Regions from separate parts of the Homo sapiens genome. Here regions 1, 3 and 4 are each linked to region 2. The links are contacts of gene promoters, found by promoter capture Hi-C in blood cells and fetal thymus (Javierre and others, 2016). All regions are on one chromosome and are shown on one strand. Each heading gives the region's core, a stretch centred on a gene start or on the middle of the fragment in contact. The rest is flanking DNA. Distances are from core to core; before and after follow the strand shown. Region 1 holds the start of ZNF337 (zinc finger protein 337). Region 2 holds the start of APMAP (adipocyte plasma membrane associated protein). Region 3 has its middle 41 kb from the start of GGTLC1. Region 4 overlaps WAKMAR1 (wound and keratinocyte migration associated lncRNA 1).

What was found. The method cuts DNA at HindIII sites, captures the fragments that hold promoters and counts their contacts. A CHiCAGO score of 5 or more calls a contact.
Region 1: the fragment with the promoter of ZNF337 here is called in contact with the fragment with the promoter of APMAP in region 2 in 3 of 17 cell types (total B cells, monocytes and total CD8 T cells); the score reaches 9.8 in total B cells.
Region 3: a fragment that was not itself captured here is called in contact with the fragment with the promoter of APMAP in region 2 in 1 of 17 cell types (total CD4 T cells); the score reaches 5.8 in total CD4 T cells.
Region 4: a fragment that was not itself captured here is called in contact with the fragment with the promoter of APMAP in region 2 in 1 of 17 cell types (total CD4 T cells); the score reaches 7.0 in total CD4 T cells.

The regions. Positions count from the first base shown.
Region 1 is chr20:25,695,520-25,698,247 of GRCh38, forward strand. It overlaps ZNF337 (zinc finger protein 337), which reads right to left and starts at 1,334. Exons shown (of 5, transcript NM_015655.4): 1 at 1,240-1,334. It overlaps LOC107985400 (a long non-coding RNA gene), which reads left to right and starts at 1,522. Exons shown (of 2, transcript XR_007067557.1): 1 at 1,522-1,644. RefSeq lists an enhancer at 738-847. The HindIII fragment of the contact is 13,942 bases long and covers 1-2,728 here.
Region 2 is chr20:24,991,333-24,994,032 of GRCh38, forward strand. It overlaps APMAP (adipocyte plasma membrane associated protein), which reads right to left and starts at 1,419. Exons shown (of 9, transcript NM_020531.3): 1 at 1,262-1,419. The coding sequence starts at 1,356. RefSeq lists enhancers at 972-1,472, 1,031-1,090, 1,111-1,190, 1,321-1,560, 1,473-1,973. The HindIII fragment of the contact is 12,703 bases long and covers 377-2,700 here.
Region 3 is chr20:24,027,970-24,030,669 of GRCh38, forward strand. No RefSeq gene overlaps it. Among named protein-coding and RNA genes, the nearest start is that of GGTLC1, 41 kb to the left of the region's middle. The HindIII fragment of the contact is 2,244 bases long and covers 306-2,549 here.
Region 4 is chr20:24,102,992-24,105,713 of GRCh38, forward strand. All of the region lies in intron 1 of WAKMAR1 (wound and keratinocyte migration associated lncRNA 1), which reads right to left. Among named protein-coding and RNA genes, the nearest start is that of WAKMAR1, 7.6 kb to the right of the region's middle. RefSeq lists an enhancer at 1-757. The HindIII fragment of the contact is 4,651 bases long and covers 1-2,722 here.

The DNA.
Region 1 (2,728 bases), core at 84-2,583, 700 kb after region 2:
GAGGAACCCGTGTATATCTTTCTCTTATTGATTTATGATTTTCTTTTTGGAGGCAGGATCTCGCTGTGTTACCCAGGCTAGCGTGCAGTGCAGCCAACATAGCTGGTTACAGCCTCCACCTCCTGGACTCAACTGACTGGGCCTCCCAAGTAGCTGAGGCCACAGGCATGGGACACCACGCCCCGCTAATTTTTTTATTTTTCTAATTTCATGTAGAGACAGGGTCTTGCTGTGCTGCCCAGGCTGCTCTGGAACTCCTGGCCTCCCAAAGTGCTGGGACTACAGGCATGAGCCACACTGCTCAGCCTGATTTATGACTTTACCTGAAATTCCTGTCTCCCTGAATTGTATAAAATTAACCTGCAAGCCTGACCATCTCGGGCACTTTCACAGGACCTCTTGAGGCTGAATAACCTGGGCCACAGTCACTCATACTGACTAGGAATAAACCTTTTTAAATATATTTTGGCAGAACCCGGATTTTGCCGTCATTAGCAAGGCCCCAGGGAAGAGGCCACCTGGGTCCCCACAGCCACCTCACCTCCCGCGGACGCTGCCCCACGCAGATCCCCCCCCCCCCCCACCAAAACACGTCTAGACGTGCCCGTGCGAGGACATTTGGTCCCGGCCTACACTCCTATCCGCGGAAGATCGTCCCAAGGCGGGGTGCTCCCAACCCAAAGCAGCGGCCCTTCCCCAAAACACGCGGGCGAAGTCCTCCCCTGTCCCGCCTCCCACAATAAAGTCTGGAGCATCAGAGTCGGAGGGAACCCGAGTCGGACCTAGCCCATCCGTCTCATGGCTGTAACCCCCACCCCACCAGTGGACCCTGGCTGTGGCCGAGTCCCCCTCCACCTCCGGCCAAAAGACCCCCGTGGCAGCTCGCTAGGCCGCTGGCCCGTCCCCACCCGAGGAGCGGCGACCCTGGCACAAGAGGACCTGGGTTGCTCGGCGCCCCTGTGAAATCCGGGCTGTTCACCGCCCGAGCCGCCACTACACGCAACCGGGAACGGAGACTGAGTGGCGGCCCAGACCCGGGGCGCTCGGCAAGCCGCAGCCCCACCGCCCACTTCAAGGCGCGGCCTGGGTCTCCGCCCCTCCCCAGAACGCGGAGACGCCGGGCCTGGAGGAGCGCGCGCTACGGCCCCAGCAGCGCCCTCACGTCCCAGGCCTTCCCGGCCCTTCTTCCTGCGCCGGAAGGGCGCGCTGCAGAGAGGGACCCGCAGGAGCGCAGCTCACCGGGGCGGCTGAGGGCGAACCGAGGCGGTGAGGTCACCGATGGTGGACCACGCATCTCACGGCTCGCTGACGCCCAGGGATCTGGAACGCTCTGCGCCGCCCGGGACTACACTACCCAGAATCCTCAGCGCGGCCGGGACTACGCTACCCAGCATCCTCGGCGCGGCCCGGAGGCTATGCGACCCTGCGCGTCGCATCCCCTCGGTGGACTACACTCCCCAGAGTCCTCGGGAGTCGTCCAGGTACACGCCCCAGAATATTGGTCATAGCGGTCCACCCGGGACTGCGCGACCCGGAATCCTTGGAAGGACTTCTCGGAAGGACTCCTCTCTGACAGGTGGGGCGAGCCTATGGTCGTTTGGACGTGGAGGGATCCTTTCAGAACCGGCGATTTCTTTTATTTAGGTAGCCCTATACATACATTAAGCATATTTTCCCATTTCTATGATATAGGTAAATAATTTTCCCACTGTCTTTTGATTATGGGTATGTCTTTTTTTTTTCTTTTGTTTCTTTTTTTTGCTATGTAGTACTTTTGATCTCTGATTTTCCTACGGATTTTGTGGTTTTATCATTCACATTTAGATCTCTCAATGGTTTAATTTTTCTCCAGGTACACACTGTAAATATACAATTATTTTTAAAATTTTCTAATATTTTATTAATTTCCCATTAAATTTATTAAAAATATAGTCTTTTACCAAATAATTTAAGGTTTCAGCTACATAATTCAGTATACTCAATTTACATTTGCATTTCAATTTCTAATTGTTCCCCCATTTATCTAATTATGCATCAATGCCAGAATTCTTTCATTATGTAGGGTGTATAATATGCTGATATCTTTTGTGGCTTGCCAAACCACGTAGACTTTATATTTCAGGCCTTTACTAGGTATACTTGCTGTTTGCTTTTTCTCTTTTGGTTTTTAAATTTTTAATTATTCTGGATAAATATTAGTTGTACATATTTATAGGGTACATGTTATGTTTTGATACAGGCATACAGTGTTTAATGGTCAAATGAGGGTGATTGGGGTATCCATCCCCTCAAGCATTTAGCATTTCTTTGTTTTAGGAAGTTTCCAATTCTCTCTTATTTTTAAATATATAGTAAAATTGTTCTTAACTATAGTCACTGTATAGTGCTACCAACTACTAGATCTTATTCATTCTAACTGTATTTTTGTATCGATTAACAAGTCCCTCTTTATCTCCTCTACCCACCATCCTTCCCAGCCTCTGTTAACTATCTCATTCTACTCTCCATCTCCATGAGTTCACGTTTTTAGCCCCACAAATGAGTGAGCACATGTGATATTTGTCATGCTGTGCCTCATTTCGCTTAACATAATGTCCTCCATTTTCATACATGCTATTGAAAATGACAGAATTTCATTCTTTTAATGACTGGCTAATATCCCATTGTGTTAATGTACCACACTTTCCTTATCCATTCATCTGTTGATAGACACTTTGATTCTATATCT
Region 2 (2,700 bases), core at 169-2,668:
GTAGGGTGATCAGATTGTCCCAGTTTGCCCAGGTTTAGCACTGAAAGTTCTACATCCTTGGAAACCCCAGTCCAGGGCAACGCAGGATGGTTGGTCAGGATATATGGGAGCATCTTCCCGATCTTTTCACTGGCCCAAGGAGTCAACTATCACCGCAAAGTCTTCTCTCTAAATTGCCTCTCTAGAGCCTAAATGCTCCTTCCTGCCATCGCTCTCCTTCAAATGTGTTCCTCTTATCATCAGTCAATAAACTCAGTCTACAGGGGCAAAAACTGCCTCTCATTCATATGTACCCCACCACCTCTTGGCACACTACTGATGAACAAATATTTCCAGTATTTCTATCAAATATAAGTCAATCAGTCCCACAACTTCAAGCTTGGTCTATGGGGCCTCTTGATTCTCCCTGAAACTTAAAAGTTATGAAATTCAGGACACAGAATTGAAAAGTGAATTTTAAGTATCTTATATTGAAATCTATGCTTACGAATCATGATTCAGTTTTTAGCTAACAAAACACAGCATTCTTATATTCTGAAAGATGGGAGAGGAGGCAAAGGGCAAAACCTGATATTTCTTAGGTGTCAACAACTACAGTTTCCTATGTTTCTCCATCCCTATCAGGAAAAACTGCCAGGCTGAATTCTCACAAAAATTGCCTACAATGTCACTACTGTTCTCCACTCTTTCCAAGAACCGCGGTGAGGACTGGTCACGCAGCGTGAGGGGGGCAGGTGCAGAAGAGCAAGTGTAGAAGCCATCTCTTCGCCGGATAACGAGGCAGGACCCCAGCATCTCGTGGGACCTCCTCCCTTCGGGAAATTGCGAGCGGGGAACCAGGAACACGCAGGGCCCCGGCCAAGTAGCTGTGCTCAGGGGGATCATTTAAGCCAAAGGAAGGACAGCGCGAGGGGAGCGAGGGAAAGGCGAGGAAGCAACCGCTATGCAGGGTGGGGCAGGAGTGAGGGAGGGAAGGCAAAGGAGCGGCGCGAGGCGGTCTCGGGTCCGGAGAGCCGAGGACAACGCGGCGACTGGGCGCAGGGTGCACCCGAACCTGAAAGACCTGGCAGGTACATCCGCCTTGTCGGAGCCTGCTTCCTCGGAAAAATGAGTTTTTCTTGGGGATGAAACGAGAGGACTCTGACAACGCGCTCGGCACCGCATCCCCAGGTTACTGTTACTGCCGTCGCCGCTGTCCAAGAGGGTCGCCCTCCACTCCTAGCGGCCCGGCTCCAGCGCCCAGTCTGGGAGTCCGCCCTACCTGCCGTCCTTAGCCTCCGGGGCCTGGCCATCATCGTCTGTGACGACCTGCGGCCGCAGGGGCCGGCGCTGTCGCAGCCCGTCCGCCTCGCTCATGGTACGGGCGCCAGCCTCACCCGCAGAAACCACCTCACACTGAGCGGCGCCGGCTCAGACTCCAGGCCCGCCCTCCCCCGTACGCGGAAATGACGTTGCGCCCAGGGACCATTCCGCAGCGTTCTCCCCGCCCCTTCCGGCCTCATGGGCGGGAGGTCCCCGGCGCGTCGTTGCTCGGCGCTCTGAGGCTAATTCTGACCGCCCGGAAGTGGGGCTCGGAACCCGCTCAGAGATAGCACCGGGAGCTGCCGGGGTCCCCGCCTGTCTCGGACTCCGGGGCCCAGAACGCGAGTGGTTCAACCTCGGGCTCGTCTAGCCCAGTGCCTGCGCATGCCGCCTTCGTCTCACGTTTCTGAGGACGGGGATGCTCATGACGCACTTGGGAATTGCTAGCACGAGATGTTGGCCACTTTTATCGTTGGAGAGGATAGCGCTGTTTATTCAGTGTCAGCGACCCTGCTCTTACAGGCAGCGTCAAAAATAATGCATTCACACCCTTGGAACGAAGTCACCTCTGCCTGAAAATTACATCCTTCCCCGACTCAGCCGGTTAAGGGGAAAACTTGGGCTAGAAAATGTTTCCCTCTGGTTAAGGCCAGATGTTGAGTATTAAATCTTTTTGTGACGATTACAACAGACATTTGATAAAGTTTATTAAGTTTTGATAAAGTTTATTAAGTTTTGATAAAGTTTATTAAGGATTACCCTTAAGTAAAGTCCAGGTAGAAGTAGAAATTATCACTAACAAAGTTTAAGAAAGCATAGAGAGGCATTGTTCTTTCAACAGTATTGCAGGAAACCAGAAATGTTCCCAGGTGCTGGGAGACGATGGTGGGCAAATCACAGACAAGGCCCCTCCTTATAGAAATTAAACTAGTGGGAAAGATGACTTTAATCAGATCATCATCATAAAATAGACGTAAAATTATCAAACGTAATAATTGCTTCAAAAGGGAAGAGCTGAATCTTGTGAGAGCATTTGAGATTCAAAGAGGAATCGAATCTGGAGGAAGTGACAGGCAGAAGAAATCAAAGCCCGTTACCAGTGGCACGAGGAATTATCTCTGGAAAAGCCATGTTCAAAATGCAGTGTTAAGAAATAATTTCCTCTTGGAGGCTTTTACCTTTTTAAATGCTAGATGGCACTAGAATTCCATGTGAATGCTTTTTATTTATTCATTCAAAGAGCGGAAGAACCAGCTTGAGGGAAGTGGAGAGCTGTGCAAATCCAGTTCTCCAGAGATCCCAGGTAATAATTCAGGCCTCGACAACATTTTACTTCATTCTGTGTCATTGAGAATAGCCAATACAGCTATTAAATCAGGGATAGTGTTAACAAAGTAC
Region 3 (2,700 bases), core at 178-2,677, 960 kb before region 2:
TTTTAGAAACCTACAACCACATACACAATGGAAAGCTTGTTGGGGTTTTGGTTGTGATTGCATTTGAGGAGCTTATCGTTACAATATTGAGTGTTCCTACTCATCGTAGCTGGGCTATGGGCTATTTTTCTTTTTTGATATATCTAAAGCATTATAACTTTTTGGAACAAAAGAATAGGATTTCTTGAGTTTAGGCAACCATCTGGAATTAGAAGTCTATTTGCAACAGTGTTTCACAGAGATAAACTCAGGACTCAATACCATAAAGCAAAGTACAGGGAGGAGAGGGGTTGGGGAGAGGACTAAGCTTCAGGTATTTTCTCTGTGTCGGATGCCCCTTGGGTGTCATGCATGCAGTATTTCAATTTATTCCCATGAAACCTCTATCTAACATGTAGCATTTTCTCCATGAAATCAAGACCCAGTTATGTTAAGCAAACTATCAAAGCTCAAACCCTGGTAAAAAGTGACAGGGCTAAGAATTGGAGAAGGCCACTTGGATTTCAAGCCAGGCTTCCCCAATATCATCATGACAAGTGTATTAAAGAAATTCGAAAGATTTTGCCTGGCTTTCTTGAGGTTGATGGATTGGCTTATTGTCTTGGCTAATGCTTTCTATCAAATTTTTAATTATTACAATAAATTTTATTTTTATTATTTATTTATTTATATTTTATTTTTTGAGATGGAGTTCCATTCTTGTTGCCCAGGCTGGGGTGCAATGGCATGACCTCAGCTCACTGCAATTTCTGCCTCCCTGGTTCAAGTGATTCTCCTGCCTCAGCCTCCCGAGTAGCTGGGATTATAGGCGCCCGCCACCATGACTGGCTAATTTTTTGTATCTTTAGTAGAGACGGGTTTTCACCATGTTGACCATACTCGTCTTGAACTCCTGACCTCAGGTGATCCACCTGCCTCAGCCTCTCAAAGTACTAAGATCACAGGCGTGAGCCACCACGCCCGGCCTACAATAAATTTTAGAATAATATCCTGCATAGGCTGATAAAAAGTTTATGACTTTAAAAAGTGTCTATCCACAGGCCAATTTGGCAGAGATCAAGAGATATTTTGTCATCTTTCCATCAGCAGATGTTGGTGAACTTAACACTTGAAGGAATAAAACAGCAACAATGCTGTCAGTTCTGGAGAGGCGCACAAGATGGGCACAGCTGTTGCAATGTTTTGAGAAAGGACATTAGTTTCTTCTTAGTCTCCATCGTCATATTCTTCTTCCATAACCTAGGGGGCAATTTATTACCAGTAGAAATAAATTGCATTGTGTACCAGCTCTGGCTTTGAAGTTTTCATTTTCTGTCTGTGTAATAACATGCTATGATTATGTATGAACTTCTAAATGGGAACAGAGGAGACTTAATTCCATTACATTTCCCTGGAGAAAGGAAGTCTAATTCAGTTCATACACAAGGATTCTTCTTGTTATATAACCGTAGTGTTTGGAGCATTATTTTCAGAGTTGTTGACTGTGGCTTGATGAGATTTTATTTTATGTAGCCAGTCCAGGCTACCAATATTTGACTTAACTTGAGAGGCAATAATACAAAGAATTTTCTTCCTTCTGAACTTGTAAAATGTACCTGACTTTCCTGCCCCAACCGTAGGGGAATATGAATTTAGCTCTGATAAAATTTAGCATCTAAGTTAATTTTGCTCTCTCCTTTCCACAGGCTGAATGTTTTTCTACCAATGCATAAGATCTACCAGCCACAGACAGGCACTGTTTTTAGATGGTCTTGAGGCATCTCATTTTACAAAGGATATAGAAACAGACGGATGCTATATAGAAACTGGTGGAGTGGGGTGGAAGAGAAGACAGAAGACAAGGGTTATAATTTAATCATATAAACTCTGGATGCAATAACCAAGGTCTCCCCAGAAAGCTGTCAGTGTATACTTGTGTGGTGAGTAGATTTCTAATCAGCTCTAGAAGGGTGGCCAAACACAGCTAAACTGTGTCTTTTAGTAGCAGGAAAAGCATCTGCTATAGTTTAGATGTTTGTCCCCCAAACTCCATATTGAAATTTGACCCCCAATATTGGATGGGGGCCTAAGGGGAGGTGTTTGGATCCTGAGGACAGATCCCTCATGAATGTCTTGGTACTGTCCTCACAGTGAAGAGTGAGTTCTCACACTATCAGCTCCCTTGAGAAACTGGTTGTCAAAACAAGCCTGGCACTCCCCATCCCCTCACCACGTGGTCTCTGCACACACGAGCTTCCATTCACTTTTCATCATGTATGGAACCAACCCGAGGACCTCATTGGAAAGAGAGTGGATGCTGGCACCATGCTTCTTGTTCAGCCTGCAGAACTGGGAGACAACATAAACCTCTTTCCTTTATAACTTACCCAGACTTGAGTATTTCTTTGTAGCAATACAAACAGACAAAGCATCTGACAAGCAAGTTGTTCAATGAAGAGATTGTTAGAGCCTGGGGAAGAGTCATCATGTTCAATTGGTACAAGATGCAATTAACTAATATGATTTGGGACAGCTGTCTCCATTGAGGTCACCAGGGTGTCATGGAGTGAAGCTTCAGGAGGAAGAGCTGACTACTTCCTACCCTGGGCTCCATTTTTGTCAGGGCTCTACAGAGAGACAGAACTGACAAGATATAAAGAGAGGAATAAAACAAAAATCCAGATATTTCTATAAATCCGATTATTTGCCAAATTAAATGTG
Region 4 (2,722 bases), core at 1-2,500, 890 kb before region 2:
TCAGGAAAAAACCTTTCCCTGGCCTCCTTGAAGTCTGCCCTCTGTGCCTTTTCTATGCATTTTCATGATGACTGTTATTATATAAATATCCTTCTGTCACATCAATTCTCAGACTCTTTAATCATCTCTTTTCCAATCTAGGCTGACAGATTCTTCAGCATAGGGAGAGATGGTGTCCAAAGCTCTTTCTACAAACTTTACCACTCAATCTGGAACATAAGTATGCTGAAATGTGTCTGTTAAAATGAATGAATGGATTCTCTGAAAGTACTTTATTATTTCAGTAGAAGTTTAGAAAGATGTTTTCTGCTCTGTTAGAATGAGATTATAGTACAGGAAGGGGGGTAAAGACAGATGGAAACTTCAATATTAAGACATTTCTGTGCATACAATTTTTGAGATGCATTATTCCAATTAATGATTAAAAAAAGAAATAGAATAAGAGCCAAATTCTTCTTCTGCTTTTAGCCAAATATCCAAAGTTCTCTATGTTAGATGACCTCAAGTTTACTGTGATCTGTTCTCAGCATTTGCAGAAGCTGGGAGTTTTGCTTCATTTTGTTACAGATGAGGTGGCAGGAACAGCTGAGTCGGAGTCTGCTTTTCACGGATTGCTGTCACAAAACATCCAAAATGTCCTTATCTCAATGCCTGGGAGTGTAGGGCCTGATCCCCAGCCTAAACTCCTTTCTAAGTGGGTAGAAGCCAGCATAATGAAGGAGAGCCAGATTTCCTGAAAACCTTTTATGCAGTAAAAGGTAATAAAGCCCCCCAATACTTGGGGCTGAAACTCACAATTATTTATTATTTCTCACAGTCTCCAGGGCTGACAGCCTGGGCAGTTCTTCTGTTGGTATCCCCTGGCTCCTACATGTGCTGTAGCCACTGGTGTTGACCAGGCTGGAGGGCCCAAGTTGGCCCCATGGCCATGCTGGCAGGTGGTATGGCTGTTGGTCGGGGTACCTCCGTGTGCCCAAGTAGCCTCTCATCTTCCAGGACGCTGATCCAGGACTCTCCACAACACTGTGGTCTCAGTGTTGCAAGGGAGTGAAGGTGGGGGCTGTAACCTATACTGGGGCTCAGGAGCCTGCCCAGTTCATTGTCCCCCACTGTCCATTCATCAAAGGCAGCCACGGGAATGCCCAGGTTCAGGGGTTGGGAAAGAGACTTCTTCTCTCAACAGGAGGCATGGCATTGTAAAGGCCCTGGAGCTCATGGGGGGTCCTGAACCAGACGATCTGCCACAGCACAGACCGCATCAGTACAAGTAACTTGTATTGATCTAGACTAGTGCTAGCTTGAGACTGAGACAAAATTAGAGAGATTCACAGTAACATCAACAGTTGCCATAAAGGCAACAGGCTTGGAACAAAGCAGTGGATAAAGAGAAAAGCCCTTGCCTTTGCTCTGTAGCAGGGACTGTCCTGAGACATGTATGTGTAGATGTGCTCATGGGCACTGGTGAGGGGAGACTCGATTTCATCCTGAGCCTGATCCTGAAACATGGTCAGCCCACAGTGCCCCAGGGAAAAGACTGACCGGAGACAGAACTGTGATGGAAAGTTCAGTGCTGGAATCAGTGAGGCCAGGGCAGGGCTGTGAGGCAGTGGGATGAAGAGGGGCAAAGATACCACCTGCAGCTGCCATGAAAGGGAGCATTTCTCTACATCCATGAATGGAGTCGTTGAAGGAGCCCAGGCTGCCCGTATCCTCTATGGCCACCACTTGTGGGTTCCAGCTCCTCTGAGCTCTCAGTCTGTAAAACGCCATATGCAGAGAACAAGTGCATCTGTGTGTGTAAGGCATCACAGACAAAAAAGTGAAATCTTCTAGATTTTTAGAAGCACTGGGAAACCAGTGGTCCTTAGTCCAAAATCATCTGGTTCTGATGCTTTTGGAGTAAGAAGTCTCCCTGGGTATAGAGTGTGCTGCTGGGGTGTGGCATGAGGACCACTGCCTTTGAATGACTGGTGATCTCACGATGCTTTAACGGGGTGGGGAGGTGCAGCTTGCAGAAAGTGGCCCTCTCAGGATGGACTGGAATAATGGGGAAAAGACTATGATATCCCATAAAATTGAATCATGGGGAAAAGACTATGATATCCCATAAAAGACTGTGGGGTTCCAGAACTGGCTCCTTATTTTCTGTGGTGACACATGGATGTGGTGTCTGGACACCTCACTGCTGGTAGAAATATATGAACCTAAGCATGGAGAGTCAGCATTGCACAGAAACAAACAGGCAGCAGGCTCATCCTGGGAAACCTGGGCCTGCACAGAGGCCGTGCTCCCAACACCAGGAATCCTGCGCTGATGAGTGGGCTATGCAGGGGTAGTTGAGCTGAGTGATGGAGTGCAGGGGCTGATAGGCCCCCCAGACTGATGCACAGGGACAAAACCCTCCATGCAGGGAGCTCTTGTAGGAGCCCTGGGTGTCAACATGGAGTTTAGAGAAGCATTGGTGATGCATAGGTGAGGGGTCCTCTTGCTGCAACCCCAAAACTAGTGAAAGGAGGCAGTCCCTGGTGGACAGCCACACATTCCCCAAGCCAAGGGACAGAGCAGAGGTCCCATGGGACCACATATTTTTGACTCCTGAGCCAGGCAGTGCATTCTCACCCATTATGGTCAGGAGGAGGTAAAAACCTTTGGATGGTGAAAAGCTAAAAAGAGCTTTTACTGACAGCTGTCTCACTACAAAGAAACAGGAGATTCCTGAGTC